3 separate regions of the Homo sapiens genome follow, and regions 1 and 2 are each linked to region 3. The links are contacts of gene promoters, found by promoter capture Hi-C in blood cells and fetal thymus (Javierre and others, 2016). All regions are on one chromosome and are shown on one strand. Each heading gives the region's core, a stretch centred on a gene start or on the middle of the fragment in contact. The rest is flanking DNA. Distances are from core to core; before and after follow the strand shown. Region 1 overlaps ZNF112 (zinc finger protein 112). Region 2 overlaps CEACAM20 (CEA cell adhesion molecule 20). Region 3 holds the start of ZNF284 (zinc finger protein 284).

Region 1 (4,659 bases), core at 1,773-4,272, 270 kb after region 3:
ATAAACCTTTAAAAAATTTCACAAATCCCTACAAATAACATTGAAATGATGCTTGAGAAGTGGGGGGCTCTTGTTGACTGCAAGTTTATGCCAGGTGCTGACTGCTAAATGGGAAGGAGGTAAAGTTAGAAAAGTCATCATTTTGTAACTGTCATGGTAAGGACCAGATAAGGCAAGATCATCAGCAGGTGCTTAATCTACAGGAAAATACTTGTGTTACCCGATGATTACAAATGGGGAAAAAAGCAGTAATTATATAGTGGGGAAACTGCATAACATCGTGACTGGGTAATCAAAGTTAACACCACCTTTGAGGGACAGATGACTTCACGTGCCTCCAGATGTGATTCCCTCAAAAGTGCACACTCTACCTACATAGTGTTCCTGCTGCATGGATCATCTGAATCTAATTTTGTGGAATCATTAGGAATGTTCTATTAAAAATAAGGGAAGAGGTGATAGCGTTCTTCAAAAATGTTACTGTCATAAAAGAGAAAGAAATGCTGTGGAAATGTTCTAAATTAAAGAAGGCTAAAGAGACAGAACAACTATACTAGACTCTAGATCCTGTTCTGGAGGGAGAAAAATATGCTTTAAAGAATAAAATTAGGCTGGTCGTGGTGACTCATGCCTGTAATCCCAGCACTTTGGGAGGCTGAGGCAGGTGGATCACCTGAGGCCAGGAGTTTGAGACCAGTGTGGCCAACATGGTGAAACCTCATCTCTAATAAAAATATAAAAATTAGCTGGGCATGGTGGTAGTTGCCTGTAATCTCAGCTACAGGTGGCTGAGGCACGAGAATCACTTGAATCTGGGAGGCAGAGGATTCAGTGAGCTGAGGTTGCACCACTGCACTCCAGCCTGGGCAACAGAGTGAGACTCTGTCTCAAAAGAAAAAATATATATATAAAATTGGCTTTATGGATAAAATCACAGCATAAATGATAGATAAGATAAAAACATTATATCTGTCCTGAGAACAGGTAAGAGAATATTCCTCTTTTTATAAAACAGACTGTGCAGTAAAGGAAAGAGTTAGTTTTGTTTAAAGAGAGATCTGGATTTTGCCTTTGGCTTCTGGAGAAGGTAATCGCTAAGTCCCTGGAATATACTGCCCGATTAGAGTGTCTTTCGTTTACCCAGAAGCCTTGGGCCACACACCAGATAGTTAAACAATGTGATTTATAGTAGGGGCTTTGAGCCATGTGGTATTAGCTTAACCTCTGGAGAAACTGGAATCTAAGAGCAGCCACCCAGGTGGTCAATCATATCTAGGTAACTAAGCTCCAGTAAAAACTCTGGACACCAAGGCTCAAATGAGCCTCTCTGGCTGGCAATGCTCCTTACGTATTGTCATACTTCACTGCTGGGAAGTCAGTGCTGTCCACAACTCCACGGAAGATGACAAGTGGAAGCTGACATCTGGAACGCTCCTGGACTCTGCCTCCTGGGCCTCTTCCCTAGGCTGACTTTAATCTGATTCCTTTCCCTGTAATGAATCATTAACTGTGAAGACAACTGCTTTCAGTGAGTTCTGTGAGTCCTTCTAGTGAATTATTGAGCCTGAGTGTGGGGCTCAGTACTCTTGGGTCTTGGGGACTCCTAATCTTGCAATTGGTATCAGAGGTGAGAGTGAACTTGGGGACTCCTGAACTCTGTATATACACTGAAGTATTTAGAGAAAAACGGCCATGGTATATTAACTTACCCTCAAGTCGTTCAGAAAAAGATATTATGACTATATATATTTTTTCATATACATACATAAGTATGTATGGAGAGGGAAAGAACATGAACATAAATGATAGAGCAAATAGGGTAAAATGTTATTAGAGGTGAATCCAGGTAGAATCTTGGCGAATCTATATGGGTGTTCTTGTCCTTTTGTAAGTTTTCTGTGAGTTTAAAGTTATTTACAAATATAATGTTTTTTTAAAAAAACCCCTCTAAAAAGTCAAGTTCATCAACAGTTACTGGTGCCCTGAAAAATAAACTTACTAACCTGGAACAACTTACTAAACTGTTTGATGGCAAATCAATGAAGCAGGACCATATTTACTATTCCAAGGATAGACTGGACAAAACCATCAGAAACATCTTGTCTGTGTTGCACGGGGATTATTAGGACTCTCGGGCACCTAATCTCAGAGAATAATTTCAGGGGCTTCAGAGTTTCTAACAATTGAGCACACAAAGACACCCCAGGAGGCTGCCATTGAGTAACTAAGGGCACCTATCCTCACCTACTAAGAGCAGGTTCCTGAAGTTCTCCAGCATCACATCTCGGTACAGCTTCCTCTGGACAGAGTCCAGCAGCCCCAGCTCCTCCTCAGTGAAGACCACAGCAACATCCTTGAATGTCACCATCTCCTACAATGCCAAACACATGCACACTAAGTTTACAGAAGAAGGGCAGTGCTGAGAAGGTGTAAAGGACTGGAAGCTGTTCTGGAGTCTGGGCAACTTGAGTCACATTTACATAGTTCTCTTCTGTTTACCTTCTGTAATGCTAATACCATTCACCAAAAGGGCTGCAAGAAAAGAAATCCTTGCACTTTGAAATTACTTCCTTTTGTTAGCACTTATAAGTAAGCCTCTGGAACTCTGTTGCACCCTAGGTTACCAATATTTTAAATTGTAATAATAATGTCATTTGCTCCACAAAAGCTTTAGTTCTAACAGTGACTGATGCTACCTGTTTCTCCTCATTTACACACACACACATCACTTATTTAATTTGTCAAATTTACAGGGTATCAGTCATCCTTACTGCTCAAATATGTAGCTCATCCTCTGTGCTCATCTGGAGACTGCTGCAGTGATGGGCACAGCTCTGGAGCCTGACTGCCTGTGTCTGGATCTGGGCGCTCTGCCCAATGCTAGCTCTATGATCTTGGACAAGTTTCCTATCTTCTCATTTGTATGGTGAAACTTATACCATACAGTCCTAGTAATAAAATGAGTGACCACATGTAAAGCATGGAAAACAGCACCTGGCACACAGTAAGTACCCAACAAATGTTAGCTACATTATTAATATTTTCATTATATCTTCTATCCCATTTCTGGGCTGCAAAGTAATTCAGAGAACTAATGGTCTAGAATATAATAATTTGATCCAACTAATGCACACTTAGTTTGAGGTTACCTATACGAACAATGTTGCAAAAACAATCTTTTGCATTGACGTTAACCTCTGGAATTCTGTTGATTATCTCCTCAAAATAAATACCAAAAAGTAACAATGGCAATGCTGAAGAATAATGACCTTTAAAGTTCTGAAATCATAATGGCAGGTGTTTTCCCAAAACAGACTTTCGCCTTCCATCTTAGCCTTCTTCCAAGAAAGTATAAATCATAGTCAACACTGGATATGAAAGCTTTTTAAAAAAATCTTTCATAATCTCACAAGTAAATTTGGGAAGTAAAAATCATTTATTAAAAACATTCTCACAAACTTATTGGTAATAAAGTTCATTCTCTTTACACACATTTGCTGTTCATCTCGATTTCTTGTTTTGTAATAATAATTCATTTGGAGGACACCGAGGTCTTTTCTTCCATGGACATTGTAAATATTTTTCATTCCACTTTGCTGTCTTGTAACTTTTTGCTGTAGGGTAATTTTAAATTTTTAAATGAACAACTGTTCAGTCCCATATTTCTTCTGGCTGCAGTTCTGAGCATAACAGCTTCAGCTCTGAATGCAGAACTCTGCTTTGGTTTGCTTTGCTTTTTTGTAAGTCTTTCCACGCAAGTGATATGCCTGAAACTCTTGGCCCAGAAAGCAAAGGCTTTAGAGTTGGCCCAATGCTTATCTTCCTGTATGAACATGAACCTCTTAACAGTGCAAACGACTCTACAGTTCCCCTCCAACAGTCATCTGGGGCCATGAATAGTGTGACAGATGCAAAGTGCCTATATATCCTATGGTATGACTAAAAACTTTAAACTAAGTACCTGTATTACTCTAATAAAATTAATACATGAATAATGAAACACACACAGACATACAAACATATATAGATAAACACATAGCTATAGGTACTGAGAAGAATCTAGCTCTTCTTATATAAGAATCTAGCTCTTCTTGTACAAAAACATCTATTTTTCCCCCAACCTTAGCTTCAATATAATCTTGTTAGACAAAATCATATTTTATGTATTCCACCTGAGACATCACTTAGGAGAAAATATTTTTAGTTTTGAGTCTCTAGAACATTATGGACAAATAATATCAAAATTCTCTCACACTGGTTTTTGAGTCAAGATTATTTGTAGGAAAACTGATACTGCAATGTAAAACTGCAAGAATCCTCAGGAACGTAAAAGCTTGTGAGTTGGAAATAATTTAAAGAAAAGGGCCGGGCACGGTGGCTCACGCCTGTAATCCCAGCACTTTGGGAGGCTGAGGCACGTAGATCACGAGGTCAGGAGTTCAAGACCAGCCTGGCCAAGATGGTGAAACCCCATCTCTACTAAAAATACAAAAAAATAGCTCGGTGTGGTGGCAGGCACCTGTAATCCCAGCTACTCGGGAGGCTGAGGCAGAGAATTGCTGGAATCCAGGAGGTGGAGGGTGCAGTGAGCCGAGATCATGCCACTGCATTCCAGCCTGGGCAACAGAGCGAGACTCCATCTCAAAAAAAAAAAAGAAA
Region 2 (4,815 bases), core at 1-2,500, 440 kb after region 3:
AGTGGAATGGAATGAAAAGGCATGGAATGAGCCAGGCAGGGTGGCTCATTCCTGTAATCTCAGCACTTTGGGAGGCCAAGGCGGGCAGATCAATTGAGGTCAGGAATTCAAGACCAGCCTGGCCAACATGGTGAAATCCCGTCTCTACCAAAAAATACAAAAATTAGCTGGGTGTGATGGCTCGTGCCTGCAGTCCTAGCTACTCGGGAAGCTGAAGTGGGAGAATCCCTTGAACCTGGGAGGCAGAGGTTGCAGTCATCAGAGATTGAGTCACTGCACTCCAGTCTGGGTGATGGAGCAAGACCCTGTCTCAAAAAAAAAAAGAAAGATGAAAGGAAGGAAGGAAGGAAAGAAAGAAAGAAAGAAAGAAAGAAAGAAAGAAAGAAAGAAAGAAAGAAAGAAAGAAAGAAAAAGGAAGGAAGGAAGAAAGAAAGAGAAGAAAGAAAATAAAAGGCATGGAATACAGTAGAGTGAATGGGAAGAGCTGGGATGGGGGGAAATAGAGTGGAAGGAAATAAAACCCAATGGGATGGAAAGAAAATGGCAGAGTGAAGTGATATAGAAATACAGAAAATGAATAAAGCTAAATGGATAGAAAGGAATTGGGTGGAGTGAAACATGGAATGCAATAAAATGGAGTGCGTTGGAAAGGAATGAAGTAAAACCAACTAGAAAATGACATGATGGAAATGGATAGGATGGAATTGAGAAGATTTTTAAAGGGAAATTTTTCTTCATAGTTCATCCTACAGACTCTTTAGTAGGGAAGAAAAAGCAGATTGGTGACAGATTTCCACCTGTCCAAAGACTCAGTGTGGCATAAACATACCTCATAGATTGACTCCATGTTTTTTGGCACAGTGGAGACCAATCTGAGTGGGGGCATCAGAGGTTTGGGTGGTGGCTTCCAGGGGCTGAAAGAATTGCCTCTACGGCTTGCTGAAGGCAGCTTCGTCTGCAAGTAAGCAGAGAAATTAGGCAGGGCCCACAGACACAGATTGCCAGGAATGTACCAACTTACACTCTTCAGGGACCGAGAGAGTGGAAGGAATCTGTTCAGGTTCTTGCAGAGAATCAGAGGTGGAAGCAGGGTTAGAACCCAGGCCCTTGCCCTGGCCCAGAACTCTCCTTTTTCCTGCTGGATCTGCAACCTCTACTCCCAGCCTCCTTTTCACCCCAGCATGTGCTGGTCCAGTACCACCTCATTGGCAATCCAATTCCAAGCCCTGGAGGTGGAAGGAACGAAAGAGGATCCAGGGTCATGGCATCTGACCCAGCTCTCTGTGAGGCCTTAGGCTACTCTCTTCCCATCCCTGGCCCTGTGATGTGCCATGAAATGTTTAGACAAGATGATCTCTCAGGCTTATCACATATAAAATTTTCAGATTGTCTTTCCTTCATAGATTCTTTAACCAAACCCAGCAGGGCCAATGTACCTCATAGGTCTCCTCTGGAAGGTCTGGTGGTTGCATCTGGGGAAAAACAAAGTTGCAGAGAGGTCATAGGGCTTGGAATAGGGGCTACCCCAAGAGATGCTCAGAAATAGCTTTGGCCTCAGAGGCAATTATAGCACTTCTGATTCCCAGAGGGCTCAAAGCTAGGAATTGTCATGTCAAAGAATAAGAAGACGAGGAGAAGAGATGAAAAAACCCGGGAGGGTCTTGAGATCCTCAGAGAAGTCAGAGGAGGAGATGCAGAGAGACTTAACCTGGCACTGGGTTTTCTCAAAAGATCATGCCAGCCCCCACCCTAAGAAGTAAGACTATAGCAGCCTGGTCAGGGGATCAAGGAGGGTTCCCTCTGCAGCATCACTCACCAGTTCGACTCTGATCCGTCCCTGAAGCTGGGATATATTGCGATACTCAGGACTCAGGCTTTCTAGAAAAAGTGAATCTCAGTCAGGAGCTGGAGTTCGAAAGAGATATGGGGCAAGGGGCTGTTTTTCCAGGACCCCTGACCCCAGGAAGGAAGTGCAGAAATCCTTCCCAGGACTCCCTGTCATATTTCCAGTGAGCTTGACCAGGAATGTCCTGGCAATCAAGGTCTGGGTTAGGTAAGGCTGTTTGGTGACACAGATGAGGGGAGAAATCTAAATTCTAGCCCAGTTTTGACACTGGGTCCTCTGTAGCCTGGATTTAGCCCTTTATCCCTAATGGCCTTGGTTTTCGTCTCTATAAAATGGGGCTGGATTGGACAGTTTCTAGAAAGCCTTCCATATCAAAAGGCCTATCCTTCCAGAATCCCAGACCCAGAGATGGCAAATACGTTTCATTTTGTCTTTGGTTAACTCTAACCCATCAGTAGAGGGCACTCGAGGCACTCTACTGAGATATGTTATGAGGCTGGATTTGGATTCAGCAGGAAGGAGTGTTGTGGTTGATTCATTCTGTCTACAACAATCAGTTAAAAAAGTCTTCTGAGATTGAGAAAGGAGAGAATTCCAGCCTGTTGTCCTGCTTTTGCCGGGACTGTTGGAACAGGCAGAACCCATCAGAGGGCTTGACTCCAATCTCATCCAAATTCCAGATGGGAACACAGAGGCTCAGAGTGGACAGGGCTTGCCCTGATCATACAGTGACCTGGTGGCAAAGCTGGGAGCCCCCAGCACCAGCCTCTTCCCCAGCCCTCACCCCTGCCCCAGGCATCAGCCACCATAGAGTCACTTACCGGAACTGGGCTCTGTGGGGTGCTCCTCCTTCGGGATGGGTTGTGAGGTCTCATGACTGGGGTCCTCTGTTGTTTTCCTTGAGGGCCTGAAACCCCAAAGCCCTCATTATTCTGTGCCTCTAGTCCTTGCCCATCTCCACAGGTTCTGCCCATATCCCATGTCCATTCTTGAACAATGCCCACAACCCTCTGAATTCCCCAGGTGCCAGACAAGACTCAGCACCATGGTCAGCAACACGCCCGGCAAGCGCCCCCTGCTGGCCACATCCCCATCCCCATCCCCCTCCCTGTATCCCTGTGTTACCGTCTGGCATTTCTGATGCAGAGAAAATAGCCCAGTTCTGAGGCCACAGCAATGACAGCCAGGATCCCGATGACAATACCAGCGATGGCCCCTGAGGACAGGGAGGAGGACTGGGGACCTGGGCAAGGAGACAGAATCAAGACCCAGGCTTGACACACCCTCATCCCTGCTCCCAGCCCGTTCCCAAGCTTGCAGCTTTTTCTCTACTGACATTTTGTGAGCACTTGTTTTCCAGTCGTTGGGAGGTATCAGATTGTGGTTTTTGGTTTTGCTTTTTTTTTTTTTTTTTTCAGACAGGGTCTTGCTCTGTCACCCAGACTGGAGTGGAGTGGCGTGACCTCAGCTCACTGCAACCTCCAGGTTCAAGTGATCCTCCCACCTCAGCCTCCCCTAGTAGCTGGGACTACAAGTACCTGCCACCATGCAGGCTGATTTTTTGTATTCTTTGGTAGAGAGGGGGTGTTTCACCATGTTGGCCAGGCTGGTCTGGACCTCCTGACCTCAAGTGATCCGCCCACCTCAGCCTCCCAAAGTGCTGGGATTATAGGTGTAAGCCACTGCACCTGACCTCAGTCTGTGGTATTAACAGCATCATTTCTAAACTAAAACATCCAGTTTCTGCGTCCAAATTTCAGCAGTGTGACTTTGGGCATGCTACTTAACCTCTCTAGGCTTCAGTTGTCTCTTTTGTAAAATGGGAACAATAGGGTTTATAGGGCTTCTAGAAAGATTAAACATACATGTATTCATTTTCTATATATATAGTGTTTGTTTGGAACCATGGAAAGTGATCAGTAAATGTTGGCCATGATGACAATGTCAGTTAGGATAATGGATCAAATATGGCTTTGTGTTTCTTTCCTCCCAGAATAGAGGCACAGACCAGAGAAAAGAGCTTTGGCAACCAGAAACCCGGCTTTCACTTAGAGCCCCTTGACTCACTGCGGCCATGTGACCCTGGACAAGTGAATTCATTTCTGAGTCTCATTTCTTCATCTGTAAATAGCACAGGATGTTTGCAAAGATGAGATGAAATCATGAATGTTAACACCTGGCACATACTAGGTGATTAATAAATGGCAATTGTTTTCATCAATATTGGCCTGCCGATTGCCCATCTCACTTCTGCCTGAACCTCTCTCAAAAGGGTGGAATCGAGCCACTGAGTTAAGAACACAGCTACAAGGATCAGGAGGGTGAGGAAGGAGCTCTGCTTTGGAGGGGCAGGAGGGAACTTCCTGGGGTGCTTCAGGGATTCTTAGGTTCATTTCTGCATCTCCACTTTTTTTTTTTTTGAGATGGAGTCTCACTCTGTTGCCCAGGCTGGAGTGCAATAGTGTGATCTCAGCTCACTGCAACCTCCACCTCCCTGGTTCAAGCAATTCTTCTGCTTCACCCTCCCAAGTAGCTGGAATTACAGGTGTGCACTGCCATGCCTGGCTAATTTGTGTGTGTGTGTGTATTTTTAGTAGAGATGGGGTTTCGCCATGTTGGCCAGGCTGGTCTCAAACTCCTGACCTCAGGTGATCCACCCTCCTCGACCTCCCAAACTGCTCAGATTACAGGCATGAGCCACCATGCCTGGCCGCATCTCCATTTCTTTATATGCCAAGCAAGGATAAGAATTCCAAACTCTATAGACTTTTTAAAATTTTTTTTAAATTTTTAAATTTTAAAATTTAAGGCCAGGCTGGAGTGCAGTGGCACGATCTTGGCTCACTGCAACCTCTCCCTCCTCTGCAACCACTGCAACCTCGCTGCCTCCCAAGTGATTCTCCTGTCTCAGCCTCCCGAGTAGTGTGATTACAGGTACCCACCACCACGCCTGGCTAATTTTTGTATTT
Region 3 (4,836 bases), core at 2,268-4,767:
ACATTGTCATGAACATGAAAAGACCATACAGCATGAGTTCTACTATCCAGATTATATAAAGAATTCTTACAACTCAATAACAGAAACCACTCAATTAAAAAAATGGGCAAAGGGCTGGGTGCAGTGTCATGCCTGTAATTCCAGCACTTTGGGAGGCTGAGGTGGGCAGTTTACTTGAGGCCAGGAGTTCAAGACCAGCCTGGCCAACATGGTGAAAGTCTGTCTTTACTAAAAATACAACTAGCTGGATGTGGTGGCCTCCTGGGCTCAAACCATCCTTCCACCTCAGCCTCTTGAGCAGCTGAGACTACAGGCGTGCACCACAGCCTCTGGTTAAGTTTTGTATTTTTTTATAGAGATGAGGTTCCTCCATGTTGCCCAGGCTGGTCTCGAACTACTGCACTCAAGTAATCTGCCCACCTCAGCCTCCCAAAGTGCTGGGATTACAGGCATGAGCCACTGCACTCAGCCTAAAAAAAAAAAATCCTAATTTTTATGGGTACACATATGGAGTATATATGTTGATACAGGCATACAATGCATAATAATCATATCAGGGTAAATGGGGTATCTGTTACCACAAGCATTTATCAGATTTTTGTGTGTGTTAGAAACAATCCGTACTCGTTTAGTTATTTCAAATGTACAATAAATTATTATTGACTGTAACTCTGTTGTGCTATCAAATACCAGATCTTATTCATTCTATCTAAGCATAGTTTTGTACCCACTAACCATCCCCACTTCCCTCACCACCAACCTTAACTTTCCCTCCCTCTGGTAACCAACATTCTGCTCTCTGTCTCCATGCATTCAATTGTTTTAATTTTTAGCTCCTACAAATAAGTGAGAAGATGTGAAGTTTGTCTTTCTGTGCCTGACTTATTTCACTGAATGTAATGTCCTTCCAATTCCATCCATATTGTTGCAAATAACAAAATCTCATTCTTTTTGTGGCTGAATAGTACTCCATTGTGTATATGTCCATTTCCTGTATCCATTCACCTGTTGATGCATACTTAGGTTGCTTCCAAATTTTGGTTATTGTGAATAGTGCTGCAATAAACATTGCAGGGGAGGGTGCAGATATCACTTTGATATAGTTTTAATTTTTTGAGGAACCTCCATACTGTTCTCCGCAGTGGTTCTACTAATTTACATTCCCACCAACAATGTGCGAGGATTCCCTCCTTCACTCCTTCCACATCCTCACCAACATTTGATATTGCCTGTCTTTTGAATAAAAGCTATTTTAACTGGAGTGGGATATCTCATGGTAGTTTTGATTTGTATTTATCTGATGATCTATGATGTAGAGCACCTTTTCATATACCTGTTTGCCATTTGTATGCCCTCTTTTGAGAAATGTCTATTCAGATATTTTGCTCATTTTAAAATTGATTTATTAAATTTTTTCCTATTTGGTTTGAGCTTCTTATATTCTGGTTATTAATCCCTTGTCAGATGGATAGTTTGCAAATATTTTCTCCTATTGTGTGGGTTGTCTCTTCACTTTGTTGATTGCTTCCTTTGCTGTGCAGAAGCTTCTTAACTTGACGTGATCCCATTTGTCCATTTTTGCTTTGGTTGTCTATGCTTTTGGGGTATTACTCAAGAAATCTTTGCCCAGACCAATGTCCTGGAACATTTCCCCAATGTTTTCTTGTAGTAGTTTCATAGTTCGAGGTTTTAGATTTAAGTCTTTAATCCATTTCGATTTTATTTTTGTATATGGTGAACAACAGGGTTGAAGTTTCATTCTTCTATATGTGGATATCATGTTTTTCTAGCACCATTTATTGAAGAGACTGTCCTTTTCCCAATATATATACTTAGCACCTTTGTTGAAAATGAGCTCACTGTAGGTGTAGAAATTTATTTCTGGATTTTCTAGTTTACGCAGCACTAAAAAGAATGTACTGTACATGAAGTGATTTCTAGGATATGTTGTTACATGACCATAGAAGAGTTAGAAACGTGCTTTCTTTTAAGTAATAATGGAAAATAAGAAATCTACACATACTGATACGGTTTGGCTGTGTCTCCACCCAAATCTCATCTTGAATTATAGCTCCCATAATTCCCACATATCATGAAAGGGACCTAGTAGGAGGTAATTGAATCATGGGAGTGGGTCTTTCCCATGCTGTTCTCGTGATAGCAAGGACAGATAGAGGAGTGACTTTGAATAGAATGGGAGGCAGGTTTGCCCTAAGCGATTTCCAGCTTGAGATTTCCTTAGTGATTTTGGGGGCCCAAGATATTTTCCTTTCACAATACTAAGCAGTTTAATTTCTCTTAAATGTGGCATTTCCACGTCTAAAGAATATTAATATGAAAACTTTAAAAGTGGGAAGATAGCTTTTCCAGGAGGGCAATTGGCCCTCCATATTGGCCCTTGACAGGGCAGGAGCATCGCCATCTTGGACAAACACTGCCATTTTAAAGTTCGCGTTGATCAAAAACTGCCTAAATCCAAAGGGCATCAGCCTAATGGCTAAGGTCAGCATGACCATAAACCACAAATGACATCTCCAATCAGAAACATTCCAACCATAAGATAAACCCCTCCCTGACCAGAGACATGCCAGCACCGAGATAACCTCCCTTCCATTGGAGAGATGTCAGTCCCAAGATAACTTCCCCTCCAACCAGAGATATTCCAACCCCACAACAGACTTCTCCCCAATACAGAAACATTCTAAGCCTGTGGTAAGCTCTCTCTCCCTAAAGCCAATACATACTCTTAGTCCGTAAGAGAGAGCGCTCCTGACTGCAATCGGCCAGAAGGCCCTCTCGGTTTATTCTCCAAAACGAACCTGTCTTTGACTGTTGAGCCGCTTTTCGTGTTTTTTTTTTTTTTCTCTTTAACTCTTACAGCCCTCTTAAACACTTAAACTGTGGTTGTTTTTCTTGCCAAACCAGTGGTACAACAGTGTCTGGTTGTACCAGGGGCTGGTGCCCCACTCAATGCCTCTCCCAAACCATTTTTCCTGGCCCATTATTTAAGCTCTTAGATTTAGCCTCATACTATTAGCGTCTAGTATATTAGCCTTTCAGCCATCTCCTGACCGCTCCACAGTCACTCCCCGCTAACTCCTTGAAGATTGTATCTCCTTGCTTTGTTCTCTTTCAGTAACACTCCTGTCATCATGGGAGGCGTGTAGACTTCAGGAATTCCTGTCTATTCAATATTTTCTCTCGAGGACGCAGGGAGAGGGAAGGACCACTCTCAGGGCCACAGTCCATATTCCAAACCAGGCGCTTGGGTCTATGGGATTCATTCCTCGTGGGCATTGCAGGAAGTGTAGTCAAAGAGCACCGCGGAGTCCCACGCTTCCCGCCGGAAGGTGATACTATAGAACGTCTCCTTTGAGATTCAAGGAAGTGTAGCGCAGGAGATCTGTTGAATGACGAGCAAGTAGGCTCAGGACGGCGTATCCGGGGAATTCTGGGAAATGTAGTTCACACGCTGCGCGGGGTAGGGGCACTTCCGCTCCCGGGGGGCGAGGTTGCTGCAGTGCATTCGGTGGTAGTTTGGTGTCAGTCCTGTGTCTTGTCGGTCCTTCTAAACGTGTCCCCTTACGATGCTGGCTCGCAACCACCTGGAAGTTGACTAAGGGGAGAAGGAGTCTCGTTGGAAAACGGAGGTTTGGAGGGACAACGGCCTCTCTTTTCGTTCTTGTCAGCGGAGCCTTCTTGGTCTTGGGGCTGTCCTCGCGTCCCCGGGCATGAGGCTGGGGGTTGGGACTTGGTCGGGACGCGTCTCGCCTGGTTTGAGGGTTTTTGGGGCTCTCAGCTCGCTCAGTCCGCCTCCCTCCATCCCACCTGTGAGGCTACTTTCTCACAATTTAGGGTTGGGATGTTATTAATCTCCCTGTACCTCCCACTGCTGTTCTTTAAAATGGGGACTTTAGGACCATCCTAATGAAATCGTTTTGGGAACTGGAAGAGGTAACACAAATGAAAGCCTTAAAGCAGCCCCTCCCTTAGTGACTGGTGGTCTCTTCTTAGTGTTTATTTCCCACGAAGCCTGTCAGGTCCCCGGGTGGGGTCAGAGCTCCATCTGCAGGGATCCCCGCCCTTGTCTCTGATTCCTGCAGGACGCTGGGTGATCCCGGACGCTTCTGACCTCTTTTTAGGAAGGCGAGGGTTGTTTCCATTTCCACGAAGGGAGAGGAACATTTAACTTTTATGCCGGACGGCAATGCGGTCAGGGTGTTTCACAGCTTTCTCCTTCCCCAGCCTGATTCTCAAAAAGAGCTGCAGGGAGGGACTTCTTGGCTACTGAGGGCAAAGTTCCACGAGAGTGGTCCTTGGCTTTTTTTCTTTTACAGAGATGCTCACCCCGACCAAGAGTGTAGGATGTGTCCTCAGGCATGGGTGTTGATAATAATTAAGCCTCAATTGGTAACTTTATCCCAAGAGCTTTATACAAGTAGTCACATTTTCGCCACACCGTGGCTCTGTGGAGAGGTACTACTTTTTTCAGTTTTAAAGATGAGTGAGATACAAAGGAGCAGGAGTTATCTGAGAATAGTCACCTAAGCAGTAAGAGGTGGAGCTGCGGTTGAAACCTGGGCGTTACAGGTCAGAGCCTTAGTTGATAATCTTTTGGATACATTCTCATTGAGGCAGAGGAACTAGCTGGAATCTAGTGGGGAAAGCAAGCTAGGACTTGATTGAAGGGAGCCTTGAGAGCAAGGCTTATGGGCTTGGACTGTTCTGGGAGTTTATCAACTATTTCATTCATTAGAACTATTTCATTTATTACAAATATTTCACTTGTTATGCAGCGGTATGATTGTGGAGCGTTCAGAAATTGGAGAAATACGA

Evidence for each region. Contacts are between HindIII fragments. The CHiCAGO score rates a contact against its expected background, and 5 or more counts as called.
Region 1: a fragment that was not itself captured here is called in contact with the fragment with the promoter of ZNF284 in region 3 in 1 of 17 cell types (naive CD8 T cells); the score reaches 5.2 in naive CD8 T cells.
Region 2: a contact is called between a fragment that was not itself captured here and the fragment with the promoter of ZNF284 in region 3, in 1 of 17 cell types (neutrophils). The highest score is 5.7, in neutrophils.

The regions. Positions count from the first base shown.
Region 1 is chr19:44,338,172-44,342,830 of GRCh38, forward strand. ZNF112 (zinc finger protein 112) reads right to left here. Exons shown (of 4, transcript NM_013380.4): 2 at 2,245-2,371. The coding sequence starts at 2,368. Among named protein-coding and RNA genes, the nearest start is that of ZNF112, 16 kb to the right of the region's middle. The HindIII fragment of the contact is 713 bases long and covers 2,667-3,379 here.
Region 2 is chr19:44,510,201-44,515,015 of GRCh38, forward strand. It overlaps CEACAM20 (CEA cell adhesion molecule 20), which reads right to left. Exons shown (of 12, transcript NM_001102597.3): 7 at 2,972-3,089; 8 at 2,668-2,753; 9 at 1,817-1,878; 10 at 1,437-1,472; 11 at 830-955. Among named protein-coding and RNA genes, the nearest start is that of ZNF180, 12 kb to the left of the region's middle. The HindIII fragment of the contact is 3,813 bases long and covers 1-3,157 here.
Region 3 is chr19:44,068,642-44,073,477 of GRCh38, forward strand. ZNF284 (zinc finger protein 284) reads left to right here and starts at 3,518. Exons shown (of 5, transcript NM_001037813.4): 1 at 3,518-3,650. The HindIII fragment of the contact is 12,821 bases long and covers 1,543-4,836 here.